Regions from separate parts of the Homo sapiens genome. Here all the other regions are linked to region 1. Evidence: promoter capture Hi-C in human tissues and cell types (Jung and others, 2019). All regions are on one chromosome and are shown on one strand. The core of a region is centred on a gene start or on the middle of the fragment in contact, and the rest is flanking DNA. Distances in the headings are between cores, read along the strand shown. Region 1 holds the start of MARK3 (microtubule affinity regulating kinase 3). Region 2 has its middle 11 kb from the start of TRAF3. Region 3 overlaps RCOR1 (REST corepressor 1).

The links. The method cuts DNA at HindIII sites, captures the fragments that hold promoters and counts their contacts. A contact is called where the count stands out against the background at its distance.
Region 2: a fragment that was not itself captured here is called in contact with the fragment with the promoter of MARK3 in region 1 in 1 of the 25 tissues and cell types used here (dorsolateral prefrontal cortex).
Region 3: a fragment that was not itself captured here is called in contact with the fragment with the promoter of MARK3 in region 1 in 2 of the 25 tissues and cell types used here (aorta and dorsolateral prefrontal cortex).

Annotation. Positions count from the first base shown.
Region 1 is chr14:103,383,861-103,386,852 of GRCh38, reverse strand. It overlaps MARK3 (microtubule affinity regulating kinase 3), which reads right to left and starts at 1,438. Exons shown (of 18, transcript NM_001128918.3): 1 at 773-1,438. The coding sequence starts at 823. RefSeq lists enhancers at 502-691, 632-1,621, 1,622-2,613 and a silencer at 972-1,161. The HindIII fragment of the contact is 8,681 bases long and covers 1-2,992 here.
Region 2 is chr14:102,765,336-102,768,506 of GRCh38, reverse strand. No RefSeq gene overlaps it. Among named protein-coding and RNA genes, the nearest start is that of TRAF3, 11 kb to the left of the region's middle. The HindIII fragment of the contact is 6,726 bases long and covers 1-3,171 here.
Region 3 is chr14:102,596,793-102,599,954 of GRCh38, reverse strand. The region is part of intron 2 of RCOR1 (REST corepressor 1); the gene reads right to left. Among named protein-coding and RNA genes, the nearest start is that of RCOR1, 5.7 kb to the right of the region's middle. The HindIII fragment of the contact is 7,779 bases long and covers 1-3,162 here.

The DNA.
Region 1 (2,992 bases), core at 189-2,688:
TATAAAACCATAGCCTGTGAGCGCTGAAAGGGACCTAAGAGCTCATCTAAGCCAATCTCTTTTTAGGAAGGAGGACAGCGAAGCCCCCAGCGGGTGTCCCTCAGCTAGGCAGTGAGTGGCAGAGCAGAGCTTCACTATACATCTGCTTTTCAAAATGTTTAACCAACTCCTTCAAAAAAGATTTGTATGGAAAGGAAACTGCCTTAATAAAGGCTGCGCGCTAGTGTTTTGGAATTCCTAAGGGGACCGCAAAGATCCCTCAGTGGACACTTAGTGACTGTGATTAAATTTAGTTCCAGACCATCTTAAAGAACGAGACCGCCCACTTGACCCAATCGATTACTCTTAATCAGCACCGGTAACATATGTTATTAATGTGACAGTCTCTCAAGAACTGCCTGACCAAGTTAAAAGCAGAGTTCGGCTAAAATAAGCACTGACCACTGCAGTGATCTGACACACACGTTTGCACAATCCATTGCGCGGCAACCTGGCCTCTCAAAGCACCGATCCGTAACGCTGCAACTCCTGGGCTTTATTAACCGACTAGACTGCCGGCATAATCGATGTACTTCGCAGACCCGCCCGCGAACAGCGGGACACGGCAGACTTCTGGAGGAAACGGTCCGACCTGGCTGCCTCCTGGGTGACTACGGCCTGCCCTCTATTTCCAGAGCGTTCGGCTGGGGGGAACACCCGACTGCAAGGCACTGCCCGAGGAGCACGAATGCCACCCCGAAGGTCCGCCAACTACAACGCCCAGGTTACTTACGTTTTCAGTGTCTCGTTCATTCACCGTTGGCAATGGGGTCCTAGTGGACATTTTACTGCACTTTAATTCTGCACAATGCGAGGGTCAAAACAAAACAGCACAGCCCTAGGAGGCCGGCGACCAGCGTCCTCGAGTCCACGGCAGTTCCGAAAAGGCGCCGTGGGGAGGGCGGCTCCCTTCCCCCTACGGCCGTCTAGATCCCGGGCCTGGCCCGGGCCGTCCCCCGGCGGGTCCCGGGGCTCATTCTCTCCCTGCCTCGGCGGCCGAGGCGAGGAGACCGGGAGGGCGGCAGTGGCGGAGCCGAGCCTGCGGGCGGCGGGCTGCGCTTCGGCCCGCCGGCGTCCCCTTGCCTCAGGGCGCCCCGCGATCCTGGGCCCCCTCACCTCCTTCTCCACTCCCTCCCGTCGCACCGCGAATTTCAGCTCGCGGGCCTCCACACAGCGCCGCCGGCGGCGCCTGAAAACGAGGAGGCGGAGGAGGATGTGAAGGAAGTGGAGCGCAAGACAGGCCGCCGCGGGCTGTGGGCGCCGACCATGGAGCGGGCTGCGGAGGAGGCGCCTGCGCCCGACTGCTTCTCCCTCTCTAGCGAGCTTGCTGCCTCAGCCTCCGCCCTGCTGGCCGCCGCTGCCGCCGCCGCACCCCGGCACCTCAGAGCCTCACGGAGCCAAGATGGCCGCCCCTCGGCTTCCTCTGCTGCCTCCGGCTGCCGGAAGTGACGACAGGCCGCCACCCGGAGTCCCGCCAATCAGCATGGCCTGAGAAAGCCGGCCCGGCTGTTGTTGCTAGGGGCGACTTGGTCCAGACCTCGCCGCGGGGGCGGTGCAGAGGGCTGGATAGTGCTGGTCGGGTCTCCGCTGACTCCCGCGGGCTGCGGGTTCCTCCTGTCCCGAGCGCGCCGGCAACCGCGAAAGAGCCGAGAAACGGCTCTGGGCGACAGCCAGAGCCCTCCCGCTGAGTTGGCATTTACACACTACAGGCCTGGGTTGGCTGGATTACAGATCGAGAGCCTATTGTGCGCAAAAGTTGCGGTTGCATCCCTGGGACTGCGCTGCACCGAATGGAGCCCCAGCATTAATTAATGACAGGGCCGGGGCTACGGGAAGGCGCCGGGCTCTTGCATCCTTAACTGTGACCCGGGAGTCAGGTTCTCGCCAACAAACCTTCCCGTCTCCGGATCTGAGCAGCTGCGGGCTGGGCGCGGACCCTGAGGGCAGCAGGCGCCTCTTGCCCTCAAGGAGCTGGTGGTCAGACGGGTGACAGACCCGGACCCAGCTAAATGCCATCCGGATGGAAGAGTGCAATAACGAGGGTGGCACAAAGGGGATGGGTTTGGGGGCGAAATGAATCTGTAGAGGACCCCAGGGACCAGCTTCCAAATGCCTGTAGGGGGTTTATAAGCAGGCTTTTCTTACAGTCAGTGCGTTGCTGCTGGAAGACTGGAAGCATCTCTGGGTGCCAGCCTCGGGCCAGGCTCGGTAGATGCCTGCAGGCTGGAACACTGGAAATGCTACCTGACCTGGAAGCCTTCCTTGCCCATTCACCTCTTCACGTGCTCGGTGCCTCTACTCAGCTCCTGGCCAGCGGTGGATGGAATCCATGGGTGCAGGGTCCGAAGAGGGAGAGTAGTGTGAGATGGGGGTGACACGAACTGTTACCGAGAGTCGAGTCTACCTTGTGGGTTCATGACATTTGTTACCTCATTTAGCCTCAGGGTAACCCTATGAGATGGGCAGACACACATGCGATCCGAAGTCTAGACAGGTACAGTGACTTGGCTAAAGTACACAGGTTGGTTAGCGACAGAGCTGGGATTCTAACCTAGCTCCCAAAGCTTGGATAATAGGTAAGCCCTTGTAGTGGGGGGCTATGTCATGCTTGCTTTCCCTTTGGTCCGTTGGCATCCCAACTCTCTTGCTATGTTTGAGACATTTCTTGCTCCACGAAATATATGTTTGTTGTTGTTGTTGTTGTTGTTGTTGTTTTGGGACGGAGTTTCGCTCTGTCGCCCAGGCTGGAGTGCAGTGGCGCGATCTCCACTCACTGCAAGCTCCACCTCCCGGGTTCACGCCATTCTCCTGCCTCAGCCTCCCGAGTAGCTGGGACTGCAGGTGCCCACCACCATGCCTGGCTAATTTTTTTTGTATTTTTAGTAGAGATGCGGTTTCACCGTCTTAGCCAGGATGGTCTCGATCTCCTGACCTTGTGATCTGCCCGTCTCGG
Region 2 (3,171 bases), core at 97-2,596, 620 kb after region 1:
CTAACCATATGCTCTTAGGAAGGCACTTCTGTACCTCCTGACCCAGGGTTTCCCCTTTTGTACAGCGGAAATAAGTTAGCCTGCCCTACCCCAAGGGAGCTTCGAGAAGACAGCCAGTGCTGGTGAGGACAACGAGGCCAACGTGTCCTGGGGGGTGCCATGATAATCCAGAAGAAAGGCACAGGGCGGTCTTTTGGAAGCTGTCACTGTAATACTGTGGAAGGATCAGCCCGTCTTTCCTCAGTATGTGAAAGGTGGTTTAACTCTGGGCTCCATGATCAGTTGCCATGGGTAAAAATGATATCTACCCCCACATAATTAAAATAACACTGGGGGCCAGGCACGGTGGCTCACGCCTGTAGTCCCAGCACTTTGGGAGGGCGAGGCGGGCGGATCACTTGAGGTCAGGAGTTTGAGACCAGCCTGGCCAACATGGTGAAACCCAGTGTCTACTAAAAATACAAACATTAAACAGGCGTGTTGACGCACACCTGTAGTCCCAGCTATTTGGGAGGCTGAGGCAGGAAAATCGCTTGGACCCAGGAGGCAGAGGTTGCAGTGAGCCCAGATTGCACCACTACACTCCAGCCTGGGCGACAGAGCGAGACTCTGTCTCTAAAGCAGTCAATCAGTCAATAAAAATGATCATGGGTCAACTCACTTGCGCTCCTGAACTGTCCTGAGCAGAGAATGCCAGGCCTCCTCTCGCCACCCAGTTCTCTGCCAGAGGCTTTGGTCCTCCTGGCTGGTTCCCTCTCCCCAGGGCTGCCCACAGCCTGGAGAGGGTGGAGACCATGCTCACTCTCCATGGTAGGAAGCCCTGGGCAGCCCTCAGAACATTCAACTAAGTGAATGAATGAATGAGTGAATGAGTAAGTGGGCCATCCACCCCAAGTCTCATCTGTCCCATCCATACGCCTCCAGTTTCACTGTGTCATGCTTCATAATAAGTAACTGCCCACACAGGACTGTGGCCCGGGGCTGGGCTCAGAGCTGAGGCTGGCTCTGGCATGTCCACACTGGAGAAGCTTATGGTAGGGCCATCTGTCTGGAAGAGTTGGAGGAACCTGTCTTGAATTCTCATTGCCATAATAAGCAAGATTCCTTTATTTAATATGTGAATTTGAAGTGCATTTGCGGGGCTGAAAATTGGAGTCTGGCCAAGGGCCATGGCTCATGCCTATAATCCCAGCACTTTGGGAAGCTGAGGCAGGAGGAGCGCTTGAGTCCAAGAGTTCGAGATTAGCCTGGGCAATATAATGAGACTGTCTTTACAAAATATCAAAAATAAATAAATAGCTGGACATGGTGGTGTCTGCCTGTAGTCCCAGCTACTTGGGAAGCCAAGGTGGGAGGATCACTTGAGCCCAGATGGTCATAGCTACAGTGAGCCAAGGCTGCACCACTGCACTCCAGCCTGGGTGACAGACTGAGACCCTGTCTCAAAAACAAAATTAAGAAAAGAAAAAGAAAAAGACTGAGGGTCTTTGGCCACCCCCTGGCCTCACCAAGTGTGAACATGAAAGAAACTCAAGGCCAGACCTCCACCCAGTCCAGGCCAATCAAAAACCTGGCGCTCTCTCTATATATATACATTATATATATATAAAATGTGTGTGTGTGTGTGTGTATGTGTTTGTGTAGGAGCGGCGGCTTTTGCCTGTAACTCCAGCAATTTGGGAGGCCAAAGCAGGAGGATCACTTGAGCCCAAGAGTTTGAGACCAGCTTGGACAACATAATGAGACCCCATCTCTATAAAAAATTTAAAAATTAGCCAGCCATGGTGACGTGTGCCTGTGATCTCAGCTACTCAGGAGGCCGAGGTGGGAGGATCGCTTGAGCCTGGGAGATTGAAGCTGTAGTGAGCATGACTGCACCACTGAATTCCAGCCTGGGTGACAGAGCAAGACCCTGTCCCCTGCCCCTACCCCAAAAAAGAATCCACTCTCAACCCCTGCTGCTGTTTGTCTCTGGGAGTTGTTTCAATGACCAACTCTGACTTTGTTCTTCTTACCCAGGTTATGTGTGGGGCAGCCCAATTGTATTTGTGTCTTATTCACCTGAAGCATGAACTCTAATTAATAAACCCAATTACAAGTAGAATTTCCAAACTCGGGGGTGCCGTAAGGCCTTGAGAGGTCCTGGAGGGCTGAGTTGGGTGAGTAGCAATGAAGGAATCCAGGCCACCCATCTTCCCTGGAGCTGGGTCCATGAAAGCAACTCCCCAAGAAGGCGGCTCTTCCAGGGCAGGGTGGGGTGGGGCTTCCCATCTGAAGGCTAAATAAAGGGGTCTGATGAGCCCCATAACACAGAGATCCCCTGTGTTCTCTGTCTTGGGTAGCAAGAATTTAAAAAATCAGTGGATTCACAAATTCGGGGTCTCATTGCACCTCTGTGGTAAATTAGTTGTTTTAAGACGTTAAATCCCGTGCATGATTGCAATGTAGGTGATTTTCCATAACTACCAACTTTCAATTTCCCTCTTTTTTTTTTTCTTTTCTTTTCTTTCTTTTCCCTTCCCTTCCTTTCTCTTTCTTTCTTCCTTCCTTCCTTCCTTCCTTTCTTCTTTCTTTCTTTCCTTGACAGAGTCTCACTCTGTCGCCAAGGCGGGAGTGCAGTGGCGCAATCTTGGCTCACTGCAACCTCTGCCTCCCAGGTTCAAGCAATTCTTTGCCTCAGCCTCCTGAGTAGCTGGGATTACAGGCGCCTGCCACCATGCCCGGCTAATTTTTTGTATTTTTAGTAAAGACAGGGATTCACCATCTTGGCCAGGCTGGTCTTGAACTCCTGACCTCGTGATCACCCGCCTTGGCCTCCCAAAGTGCTGGGATTACAGGAATGAGCCACCGCGCCCGGCCTCTTTTTTTTTTTTTTTTTTTTTTTTTTTTTGATGGGGCCTCATCGTCACTCAGACTGGAGTATAGTGGCACGATCGTGACCCACTGCAGCCTCGACCTCCTAAGCTCAGCCGATCCTCCCATCTCAGCCTATCGAGTAGCTGAGACTACAGGTGGCCGTGTGCCACCACACCTGGCTAATTTTTGTATTTTTTTTGTAGAGATGGGGTTTTACCATGTTGCCCAGGCTGGTCTCGAACTTCTGGGCTTAACCAATCTGCCCACCTCGGCCTCCCAGAGTGCTAGGATTACAGGCGGGAGCCACTGCACCCA
Region 3 (3,162 bases), core at 383-2,882, 790 kb after region 1:
ATGTGCACATGTATTCCCAGCAACTGATGAGGCTGAGGGGGGAGGATCACTTGAGTCTGGGAGGCAGAGGTTGAAGTGAGCCAACATCAGGGCCACTGCACTCTAGCCTGTGTGACAGAGCAAGACCTTGTTTCAAAAAAAAAAAACAAAACAAAACAAAACCACAAAGCATTCACCATATTTTTTTTACAATGATCTAAAGCATAAAAAAAGCAGAACATAGAATCACCAGTGAAAACAAATGAAAGGCATATCAAGACACCCTGTTCAGTAAAATTACCTATTCCACATGAAAACATAACACAGTTTTCTGACAGAAGTCAACTCTGAAGTGACAGTTAAGCCAATGACAACCACAAATTTTCAGATCTGATTAAATACATTGGATTAAACATTCAAAATAAAGGTTGCTTTTTTAAAGGGCCACTATCTCAAAAATATTCATCATTAACAATGTACGCCTCTGAAGCACCAAGGACGTGTATAAAGAGAATAAAAAAAATTAAAAAATAGTAATAATAATGGCTGAACACGGTGGCTCACACCTGTAAGCCCAGCACTTTGGGAGGCCAAGGCAGGCAGATGGCTTGAGCCAAGGAGTTCGAGACCAGCCTGGACTACGTGGCAAAACTCTTGTCTCTACAAAAAATACAAAAAAACTAGTCAGGCATGGTCGTGGACATCTGTAGTCCCAGCTACTTTCGAGGTAAAGTATGGATGGGAGGATAGTGTGCGCCCAGGAGGTTCAAGTTCACTGCCGCCATGATCACACCACTATACTGGTGACAGAGTGTGACCCTATCTCAAAAAAAAAAGGAAAAAAAAGGAAAGAAAAACATTATTCATTTCAAAATAAGTGATGCTTTGCTTATGTAGGAAAGAACCAACCAGAGGTAGGATAGATAAGCATCCCCCCTCTTACCCTATTATTCTGTAACTACTGAATATTAAAAGAAACCAATGACAACTCAGCATAATCTGCGGCAGACAGCATGGAAAGGCAGTCTGGACAACACATGTAAGAACAAAGCCTAAGTTAAAAGTGTAGGGCTGCACTTAGGTTTTTAACTCTTTTTTTTTTTAACTCTTTAAAAGTTGGTAAAACTTTTTATTTCAGTGTAAACACAAATGGTATTCTAACTACCAAGCAATGCCACACTACACCGATCTAATCTAGGTATTAATTATTTTATAAGAACTGAATCAGGGCCAGGCGTGGCGGCTCACGCCTGTAATCCCAGCACTCTGGGAGGCCGAGGCGGGCGGATCACGAGGTCAGGAGATTGAGACCATCCTGGCTAACATGGTGGAACCCCGTCTCTACTTAAAATACAAAAAAATTAGCCGGGCGTGGTGGCAGGCGCCTGTAGTCCCAGCTACTCGGGAGGCTGAGGCAGGAGAACGGCATGAACCCAGGATGCGGAGCTTGCAGTGAGCCCGGATTACACCACTGCACTCCAGCCTGGACAACAGAGCGAGACACCGTCTCAAAAAAAAAAAAAAAAAAGAACTGAATCAGGATTTTAAGACTAACGTGCTCTATCCACCTCATTCACTCTTTGTAAGGCATGACAGAATTAAATCTTCCTTTGAACTGCATAGGAAATATCAGATAGTCTTAGCTCCAACCATTTGCTTTCAAACCTAAATAGGGTCAAGCTGGCATACCGCAAATAAGTAAAATCTGACAAAAAAATCAGGCCGGGCACAGTGGCTCACACCTGTAATCCCAACACTTTGGGAGGCCGAGGTGAGTGGATCACCTGAGGTCAGGAGTTCGAGACCAGCCTGGCCAACATGGTGAAACCCATCTCTACCAAAAATACCAAAATTAGGGCTGCGCAGTGGCTCACGCCTATAATCCCAGCACTCTGGGAGGCCAAGGCAGGCAAATCACCTGAGGTTGGGAGTTCACGACCAGCCTGACCAACATGGAGAAACCCTATCCCTACTAAAAATACAAAATTAGCTGGGTGTGGTGGCCCATGCCTGTAATCCCGGCTACTCGGGAGGCTGAGGCAGGAGAATTGCTTGAACCTGAGAGGTGGAGGTTGAGGTGAGCCGAGATCGAGATCATGCCATTGCACCCCAGCCTGAGCAACAAGAGAAAAAAACTCCATCTCAAAAAAAAAAAAAATTGCAAAAATACCAAAATTAGCCAGACATAGTGGCACACGCCTGTAATCCCGGCTACTGAGGAGGCTGAGGCAGGAGAACTGCTTGAACCCGGGAGGCAGAGGCTGTGTGAGCTGATTGTGCCACTGCACTCCAGCCTGGGCAACATAGAAAGACTCCATTTCAAAAAAAAAAAAAAAAAAAAAAAAAAGGTCGGGCGCAGTGGCTCACGCCTGAAATCCCAGCACTTTGGGAAGCCAAGGTGGGTGGATCACCTGAGGTCAGGAGTTCGAGACCAGCCTGGCCAACAAGGTGAAACCTCATCTCTACTAAAACTACAAAAACTAGCCGGGTGTGGTGGTGTGCGTCTGTAATCCCAGCTACTCAGGAGGCTGCAGCAGGAGGATCGCTTGAACCCAGGAGATGGAGGTTGCAGTGAGCTGAGATCATGCCACTGCACTCCAGCCTGGGTGAAAGAGCGAGACTCTGTCTCAAAAAAAAAAAATCAAAGTCAAATTCCTCCATTCATGCATCTCTACCATAGTTACTTATTTTACTATAATAAAAAAAGAAAAGAAAAAAAGCTGCCTGTTAAGTTTCACGTCCACCTCTCTGTTCAAATTCTAGTAAAAGAGAAGAACAAAGACACACTCAAAACTGAGGTAGGGACAGGGCATGGTGGCTCACGCCTGTAATCCCAGCACTTTGGGAGGCCGAGGGGGGCAGATCACCTGAGGTCAGGAGTTCAAGACCAGCCTGGCCAATATGGTGAAACCCCGTCTCTACTAAAAACACAAAAATTAGCCAGGCATGGTGGCACGCACCTGTAGTTCCAACTACTTGGGAGGCTGAGGCAGGAGAATCACTTGAACCTGGGAGATGGAGGTTGCAGTGAGTCAAGATTGTGCCATTGCACTCCAGCCTGGGCAACAGATCAAGACTCCGTCTCAAAAAAAAAAAAAAAGGCGGGGGGAGGGGCAGTCACAGTGGTTCACGCCTGTAATCCCAGCACTTTGGAAGGACAAGGCGGGGAGATCACCTGAAGCA